Regions from separate parts of the Homo sapiens genome. Here region 1 is linked to region 2. Evidence: promoter capture Hi-C in 16 types of primary human blood cells and fetal thymus (Javierre and others, 2016). All regions are on one chromosome and are shown on one strand. The core of a region is centred on a gene start or on the middle of the fragment in contact, and the rest is flanking DNA. Distances in the headings are between cores, read along the strand shown.

The links. The method cuts DNA at HindIII sites, captures the fragments that hold promoters and counts their contacts. A CHiCAGO score of 5 or more calls a contact.
Region 1: a contact is called between a fragment that was not itself captured here and the fragment with the promoter of CCDC43 in region 2, in 1 of 17 cell types (megakaryocytes). The highest score is 5.2, in megakaryocytes.

The regions. Positions count from the first base shown.
Region 1 is chr17:44,551,190-44,555,788 of GRCh38, forward strand. No RefSeq gene overlaps it. Among named protein-coding and RNA genes, the nearest start is that of FZD2, 4.0 kb to the right of the region's middle. The HindIII fragment of the contact is 4,396 bases long and covers 732-4,599 here.
Region 2 is chr17:44,687,693-44,692,171 of GRCh38, forward strand. It overlaps CCDC43 (coiled-coil domain containing 43), which reads right to left and starts at 2,084. Exons shown (of 5, transcript NM_144609.3): 1 at 1,858-2,084. The coding sequence starts at 2,061. It overlaps LOC105371792 (a long non-coding RNA gene), which reads left to right. Exons shown (of 4, transcript XR_007065769.1): 2 at 162-331; 3 at 486-601; 4 at 1,249-1,321. LOC124904010 (a long non-coding RNA gene) reads left to right here and starts at 2,089. Exons shown (of 2, transcript XR_007065770.1): 1 at 2,089-2,162; 2 at 2,303-2,618. RefSeq lists enhancers at 1,817-2,406, 2,075-2,214. The HindIII fragment of the contact is 1,709 bases long and covers 997-2,705 here.

The DNA.
Region 1 (4,599 bases), core at 1,680-4,179, 140 kb before region 2:
GGTGGCTCACACCTGTTATCCCAGCACTTTGGGAGGCTGAGGTGGGCAGATCACTTGAGGTCAGGAGTTCAAGACCAACCTGGCCAACATGGTGAAACCCTGTCTCTACTGAAAATACAAAAATTAGCCGGGCATGGTGGCTTACGCCTGTAATCCTAGCACTTTGGGAGGCTGAGGCGGGCGGATCACGAGGTCAGGAGATCGAGACCATCCTGGCTAACATGGTGAAACCCCATTTCTACTAAAAATACAAAAAAATTAGCCGGGCATGGTGGTGGGCACCTGTAGTCCCAGCTATTCAGGAGGCTGAGGCAGGAGAATGGCGTGAATCCAGGAGGCGGAGCTTGCAGTGAGCTGAGATGGAGCCACTGCACTCCAGCCTGGGGGACAGAGCGAGACTCCATCTCAAAAAAAAAAAAAAATTAGCTGGGCATGGTGGTGGACACCTGTAATCCCAACTACTCAAGGAAGGAGAATCCCTTGAACCAGGGAGGCAGAGGTTGCAATGAGTGAGATCGAGCCACTGCACTCCAGCCTGGGCAATGGAGCAAGACCCTGTCTCAAAAACAAAAACAAAGAAAGAAAACAAAAACCTGACTTGAAGCTCTCAGACCCAGAAGAAACAAACCTTGTGACATCCTCATGTTGGCTAGAATCTCTGCTGGCCCAAACACCTCTTCTCAGTCTCCTTCCTTATTGGCCCCAGGGCCTTTAAATGTTGACATCCCCAAAGCTTTGGCCTTCCCACCCTATCCATCTTCCCTAGGTGATCTTAGCCATGCTCATACCATCAGACATAGGCTGAAGGTGCCAGATCTAAATCTAGCCCAGAGTTCTGACCTGAGCACTGAGTTAGATTATTCGCCTGCCTTCTGGACACCTTCTCTTGGATGTGCCATAGGACCAGGCTTGCATGACTGCACTCATTATCTGCCCTTTCCCTGCATTTCCCAGCCTGGTTAATAGCATTAGGGCACCTAGGTCAGAGCCTTGGTTGATCTCGTCCCTTACTCTCTCTCCTTACCATCTGCACTGTCACATCTCAGTTCCTGCCGTCACCATTTCTTGCCTGGTCTCTTGTGATCAATCTGTAACTGGTATCTCAGGCTCCCGGCATGATGCTCCTCAAAACTGCCCAAATGCACTAGTTAAAATGCAAATGTGACCTCTTCCTTTCCCAAAATTCTCCAGTATATCCTCATCTCCAGGAGCCCAGACCGTGTGCAAGGTATCCAAGATCTCTGACTACTTAAAGCCTCCTCTGCCGTCGTTCTCCTAGATGCACGTGGGACTCTCACAGGGCCAAAGTCTTGCGCTGCCTCCCTACTCCATCTATTTCACCCCACCACGCCCTTGCACACAATGTTCCCTCTGTCTGGAATGCCTGTCCCTCCCTTGTCTGTTTACATGTCTGTTTCCCTGTTAGATTGTGAGTTCATGTTTCTACATCCAACACCTCACACGTGATCTGTGAGGCCCTGCAACTCTGATCCCTGCTGGCCTCTTTACCTCGTCCTACTTTGCTCCTCACTCCAACCACACAGCCTCTCTTGCCCTCCCCGACTCAGTCAGATTCCCTCCCCAATTATGCTTTCAAAGAACTACGGATCTTCCCTTCACAGCACTGAATCCCATGGCACTTTTACATCCATGTCAGTGACTGTGCAGTCAACGTGAGTGTCTCCCACTAGGACATGAGCTCCATAGGAACAAAGGGTTGGGTCTGGTATTCAGTGTAATTTTTTTTTTTTTTAAGAGATGAGGCCGGGCATGGTGGCTCACACCTGTAATCCCAGCACTTTGGGAGGTCGAGGTGGGCAGATCATGAGGTCAGGAGTTTGAGACCAGCTTTGCCAATATAGTGAAACTCCGTCTCTACTAAAAATACAAAAATTAGCTGGGTGTGGTGGTGCGCGCCTGTAATCCCAGCTACTCAGGAGGCTGAGGTAGGAGAATCGCTTGAACCCAGGAGGTGGAGGTTGCAGTGAGCTGAGATCGCACCACTGTACTTGGCGACAGAGTGAGACTCTGTCTCAAAAAAAAAAAAAAAAAAAAAAAAGAAATGAGTTCTGGCTATGTTGCCCAGGCTGGTTCCAAACTCCTGACCTCAAGTGACCCTCCTGCCTCAGCCTCCCAAAGTGGAATTACAAGCATGAGCCACCGTGCCTGGCCATAAATTTGTTAAGTGAATAAGAGCACACAATTCTTACAGATATTAGGGGCTATGTGATGCAGGAGACAGAACACAGCTTTAAGAGCCAAACAGGCCTGGGTTTTAATCTCACCCCTGCCACATACTATGTGACTTTGGGAAAGTTGCCAGATCTCACCTAAGGTGGATTCTTCATCTATAAACAAAAAACAATACCCACTTTGTAGGCATATACATGTGCAGAACTTAGCAGGAGCTCAAAAAATGGTAGCAATTGGCCGGGCGCAGTGGCTCACGCCTGTAATCCCAGCACTTTGAGAGGCCGAGGTGGGTGGATCACAAGGTCAGGAGTTCGAGACCAGCCTGACCAACATGGTGAAACCCTGTCTCTACTAATAATACAAAAATTAGCCAGGCATGGTGGTGCCCGGCTGTAATCCCTGCTACTTGGGAGGCTGAGAGAGGAGAATTGCTTGAACCTGGGAGGTGAAGGTTGCAGTGAGCCAAGATTGTGCCACTGTACTCCAGCCTGGGCGACAGAGCGAGACTCCGTCTAAAAAAAAAAGGGTAGCCATTACCCTAGGTCTCCCAGGATGCCTGCTGAATAAATATTTAATTCAACGTAACTTCTTGTTTTAAAAGGCGCTTTATGATTATGAAATGTATTTTTGTCATTCTGAAATTATTTTGGATGTGGAGTCTCACATTTTTAAAATCTGTTGGTTTCCTACTTGGCAGATGGGAAAACTGAGGTTCAAAGAAGTAAAGTGACTGTTCCAAGGCTGTATAGTTAGTGGCAGAGTTACAAATGGGTCCAAGTCAATGACCAAGCTAATTTATTTATTTATTTAGAGGTCTCACTCTGTTGCCTGGGCTGGAGCACAGTGGCATGATGACAGCTCACTGTAGCCTCAACCTCCTGGGCTCAAGCAATTCTCCCACCTCAGCCTCCCAAGTAGCTGGGACCACAGGCATGCACCACCATGCCCAGCTAATGTTTTAAAATTTTTGTAGAGACAGGGGTCTCACTTCTTGTCCCAGCTGGTCTCAAATCTGGCTTCAAGCAATCCTCCTGCCTTGGCCTCTCAAAGTGCTGGGATTAAAGGCATGAGCCATTGCATCCTGCCCAAGCTAATTTTTAAAAACTCAGAAATAAATGCTGTATCTATCAAATAACAAATTACATCCTTTAGTTACAGGGCTCCTGTACTCAAGAGGCAGGTTGGCAGAATGAGAAGTGCTGTAGGTAGGCCTGTAATCTGAAGATGCAGGTTCTGGTCCTGTTCACACTCAGGTCCCTCACGTGAAAGGCAAGAGTAAACATGAAATACCGTGATTTCTCCTTATTTCATGTACAAATGCTAGACAAGTGTAACATCTTTGTGGAATCACTTTTCTTCTGGGCTACTATAAACTCTTTTTTTTTTTTTTTTTTGAGACAGAGTCTCGCTGTGTTGCCCAGGCTGGAGTGCAGTGGCGCGACCTCAGCTCACTTCAGCCTCCGACTCCCGGGTTCAAGCCTCAGCTCCTGCCTCAGCCTCCTGAGTAGCTGGGACTACAGGCATGCACCACCATGCCCAGCTAATTTTTGTATTTTTTGTAGAGACGGGGTTTCACTATGTTGGCCAGGCTGGTCTCAAACTCCTGATCTCAGGTGATTGCCCGCCTTGGCCTCCAAAAGTGCTGGATTATAGGCATGAGCCACTGCCCCCGGCCTACTATAAATTTTTGAAGGGCAGATGCTGTCATCTTTTTCCACATTCTCCATAGCCCCTATTATGGTGGTTTGAAATAAGAAAAAAAGTGTGTTGAAGGAATGAAAGGTTGCCTGAGTGAATGGAAGAATGTCCTCTATTTCCTGTTTCCAGCTCCCCAGCTCCCCATCTGCCTTGGGGTGGCTGGGAGGGGATAACTGTCATTCAGACCTGGCCCTAGGCCAGGAAAACGGGTTTGTCATGGAAGGAAATTGAAGATGCTGCGTTTACATTGGAGATTTGCTCTCAATTTCCTATCGGACTGCGAGCTTCCTGAATGGGGTATAGGAGCCTGTCATTCATTTTTGTTTCCACTGCTCAGCTTCCATGTTTGGTACCGGCTCTCAAGATGCTTTGAGATGGACTAGGCAGGAGATCTGAGGATCAAAAGCTCAGGCTCAAATGGAGCAGAGAGAGCACAACATTCCCATCCTTAGACTGCTCTGAGAGAAAATGGGCTTGCTGGTGGAATAGAGATGGGTGGGCTGGAAATGGGATGCACAAAAAAAGGCATATCCCCCTCGACACCCACTCATGCCCCAATTTTGAAGGAAAATTTTCATCCTGGTGTAGGGAAAAGGCAAATTCCCCAGGATGTAATAAGGAACATTTTCAAGTTGTAAGAAACCGGAACATCTTTATATCATTCATTCGATCAGGAAAAAAAAATTTTTTTTTGAATCCTGTCAAACC
Region 2 (4,479 bases), core at 834-3,333:
AAGAAGTCTCAAAGTTATTTCAACAGCTTCATGGAGTGTTTAGAAACTTCCCAGCTGTAAATAAAAACTACCTTAAATTGCTTGCCTCCTACTCTTTCTCCCTATAATCTGTAATGTTGTGGTCCAAAAAAAGAATTGATTCCACTGTCTTGTATTTCCAGTGAACTTCCAAGCTTCCTCACAGGCTGTGTTAAAGTTTTCCCATTTATAAGCCAATCTTGCCAGAAGAGGCTCTGGAACTCAAATGGGTTACTGCCAGAAGAATCTGGGACAGCTGCACTAGTGTTATATTTCAACCATGTACCCAATCTATGAACTGCTTCCACCAAATGTGAGTGATTTTTTCCTAGCACTTGTTTCCGCTTTCACAAAACACTTTTGGATTTGAAAATGTTTCTGCCTTCTACCCTTTTAAAAAAATGAGATATGAATATGTACATTTATATCTATATATATTTATACTAATTTTTTTTTCTTTGAGACAGGGTCACTCTGTCACCCAAGCTGGAGTGCAGTGGCACAATCACGGCTCACTGCAGCCACAGCCTCCTAGGCTCAAGTGATCCTCCCACTTCAGACTTCTGAGTAGCTGGGACTACAGGTATGCGCCACCATACCTGGCTAATTTTTTAAATTTTTTTGTAGAGACAGGGTCTTGCTATGTTGCCCAGTGTGGTGTGGAACTCTTGGCCTCAAGCAATCCTCCCACCTCAGCCTCCCAAAGTGGTGAGATTACAAACATGAGCCACTGTGCCCCACCTCATGGTACATTTTGATTCTATTACTAGCCTTTCAAAATTGGTTTTGAGAATAACAAAGAACCCATTTTTCTAACCTGTCCATTGTAATAAATGCCAGAGGATAAAGCCTTTGATGGACAGACAGGTGGCTCTCACAGTAGCAATCAGGTATCCAGGATCTCCTCTAATCCATGAATGCAGAGACAACTCTAGCTTCTACAGCATTTAGTGATGATTCAAGTAAATTTTATTTTTAAGCTTGTATTTAAAAGGAAACAATTTGTTAGACAGCCACAGGTAGCACCTACAACCAATTTAATCTGTAATAACCAGTCTAATAAGTGTGTATGTTGGAGGTGTGGGAAGTGAAGATGAAGGCAGCAGAAATGATCAGGTTGAAAAAGTGGACATCTGGGTGACTTACTATGTAAACATAGCTTAAAGTACACATTTCTGAATACCTTGCTTCTAACAGGCTAAGGACTAAGTTTCTCTCTCTTCGTTAAAGCTCTGATCTCTCTCATACCCTCCTTCCCACCACCAATGATTACTGTAAATACTGTAATGGATCAAGCACGACGTTTGCTTCAGTTCTGCGTGGGCATGAAAAGACTTCTACCACCAGCTTACCTTTTATGGACTCCTACATCCATATAAGAATCAAAAGGGCACTTCCTGCAGGCTTCTGTCATGGGACAGCCCTGGGAACTGCCTTGTAATAGGCACAGACCTCCCAAGAGCATTTTAATACCCCCAGTGAACACTGTAAACGGATGGAAATGGAATTGGTCGTCAGATATTTATGATAACATTCCCATTCTGACATTTCAATGCCTTCGGAAGAACCCTCCTCGGCTCACTCACAAGCATCGGAGAGGGCCTTGTCCCCAAGAATACGAGAAAGCCCTTCCTCTCTGTGTACCTGCAGCTTTCAGGCTTCCCACACCTGGTTGGGGAGCAACCTCCTTCCCCCGCCGCCCAGATATCAGAGGAGTATACCTCTCCCAGGTGAGACCACTGAGCCTCTGGGATACCCGGTAGGGGAGGGAGGGTGCAAAGTACTGACAGGTCCTCAGATGCTGGCCAGAGGCTGAAGGAATGTGTCCAGGCTACTCACCAGGAAAGCAGAGAGGATCCCCTGCAGAGCGTCCAGCTTCTCTTCTTCCTCCTCCTCCTGCAGGATACCCAAGATGTAGGCTCCATAAACGGCTCGGTCCACTCCCAGTGCCTCCAACCGTCCGTCCAGCCAGGAGCCAAAGCCGCCGCCTCCGCCATCGCCTTCGCCAGGGGCTATCGCGGCCACTTCGCTGGGCGCCGCCATCTTGGGGTCAGGGTCCTGCAAGCCCCTAGGGCGCCTACCGCAGTGCCTGACGGGCCGCGCCGCAGGTCCACCGCGCATGCCTGAAGAGGAAGCCCAGGCCCGTAAGTGCAAAGAGCGCAGCCGTGTCGGCCGGCTTGAGAGTTTTGTGCTTTCTAGATGAAGCGCGTCTTCGCATACGTGCGGTCGCGTGATCTCACAAGATGCTTGGCATGTGAGTATTCTTAACAGACTCATTCTACAGTTCGGGAAGTTGAGAGAGGTGCAGTAATTTGGCCAAAGTCACGCGGCTAATAACTACCCAGGACTGGAGCTCAGCGTGGATGCCATCGCTTCCTCCACCCGACCGAGCTGCCTTCCCCGCGCTTTCGGGGGATGCTGGCCGCCCACTCCCACACAGCTGTCTGGCAAGAACCTCCTGACAGCCTGGAATACCCTCGTCGTCGCTACCGACGGCTACCACCTTCACCTGTACAAGCCCTTCCCTGTCAAAGTAAAGGTTGCAGAAAACCTTCCCTGATTCCATGGTAGGCACTCAGTAAATAAACAGGCAACCTCAAGTTATTTCTTCCACTCATTGATTCAACGCGTGCACGGGACTATTCTTTGAGAAGCGTACCCCACCCTCTGCTAGGCACTGTGCCAAAAGCTTTTCATGCATTATCTCTTGTAATCCTCCCTACAGCCCTGTGGGGAGATGCTTTTATTGTCCACATTTTAAAGATAAGGAGACAGGCCGGGCGCCATGTCTCACGCCTGTAATCCCAACAGTTTGGGAAGCCGAGGCGGGTGGATCACCTGAGGTCAGGAGTTCGAGACCAGCCTGGCCGACATGGTGAAACCCCGTCTCTAGTAAAAATACAAAAATAAGGCCGGGCACGGTGGCTCACTCCCGTAATCCCAGCACTTTGGAAGGCCAAAGTGGGCAGCTCACCTGAGGTCTGGAGTTCGAGACTAGCCTGACCAAAATGGAGAACCCCCGTCTCTACTAAAAATACAAAATTAGCCGGGCGTGGTGGGACATGCCTGTAATCCCAGCTACGTGGGAGGCTGAGGCAGGAGAATCGCTTGAACCCAGGAGGCGGAGGTTGCGGTGAGCAGAGATCGTGCCATTGCACTCCAGCCTGGGCAACAAGAGCGAAATTCCGTCTCAAAACAAACAACAACAACAACAAAAGCCAGGTGTGGTGGCGCGGGCCTGTAATCCCAGCTACTCAGAATCGCTGGAACCCGGAAGGCGGAGGTTGCAGTGAGCCAAGATCGCGCCGCTGCACTCCAGCCTGAGCGACAGTGAGACTCCATCTCAAAAACAAACAAACAAACGAACAAACAAAATCACTAAAGATAAGGAGACAGATATGGAGAGAGTCACACAACTAGAGGGCGCCTAACCAGTGGCAAGAACTCTTCTTTGGCAGAGTTATGAGAGCTTCAGCTGACGTCAAAACACCTGGCTCTGGGCTGGAATGAATTACCCAAGAATTTGGTTGGCTTTAGCTGAAGTGCAGAGGAAGCTGGCAAGGTCCTGGCTAACTCCTTCCTCAAATATGTACTGAGTACCTTCAGTATGGCATTGTTGCTGGCACTGAAAACACAAAAATGAATGTCACAAAATATATGTCCTCAGGGGTTTTTAATCCATTAGGAACAGACATGTTTAAACAAATGATGACAATATAGTGATATAAATGTTTTAATGGAGCTTTATCTAGCGGAGATTGCAGTAGGATGCCTAGAAGATTGAGTTAACTTTACCTGTTGGAGTGGAGTTGGAAGCAGGTGGGGAGAGGTTCATAGGAAATCCAGGAAGGCTTCCCAGTGGAGATGATGCTTGAACTTTCTTGAAGAATGGTAGGAGTTCTTTACATAAAGGGACTGGAGGGAAAAAGGGGGTAGATCCAGATGCAGGGGAACTGTGAATTCAAAGGCTTGCTAGGGGGCCTCCAGAGAGTCATGTATGGCTTGAGCTACAGGATTCAAATAGAAGATATTCAGGGGATAACAACAAAAAAAGAAGGAAAGGAGTTTGTATACCTTGCAGAGGTCCTCTTATTGCAGAGGTCTACCCTTAGTGGCATTGGGATTATGTAAATGAATGGACACTAAATGAATGGCACAGATACAAATGTAAGAAATATGGCAGAGTGTGAATTTTAGTTGCGTGGCTTCTGTGTGCTCGCTGAGTTAGATAGAATGTGACACTAACAGAGTCAGAGGCCAGAGTCAGCCTCCAAAGGCTTGCCTCTTTTTCAAGTCCTCAGTTATTCTTTCTAATCTAGTAGCTGTCTTGCAGGTAGGGCTTGTCAGTTCACAGACCTGGGTGCCATCATGGCTCAAGGATGATAGCTGGTCAGTGCAGAGCCCCCAAACCAGAAAAACATCACAAAATTTTGTTTTTTAGAAATACAGCCTCACAAGAAG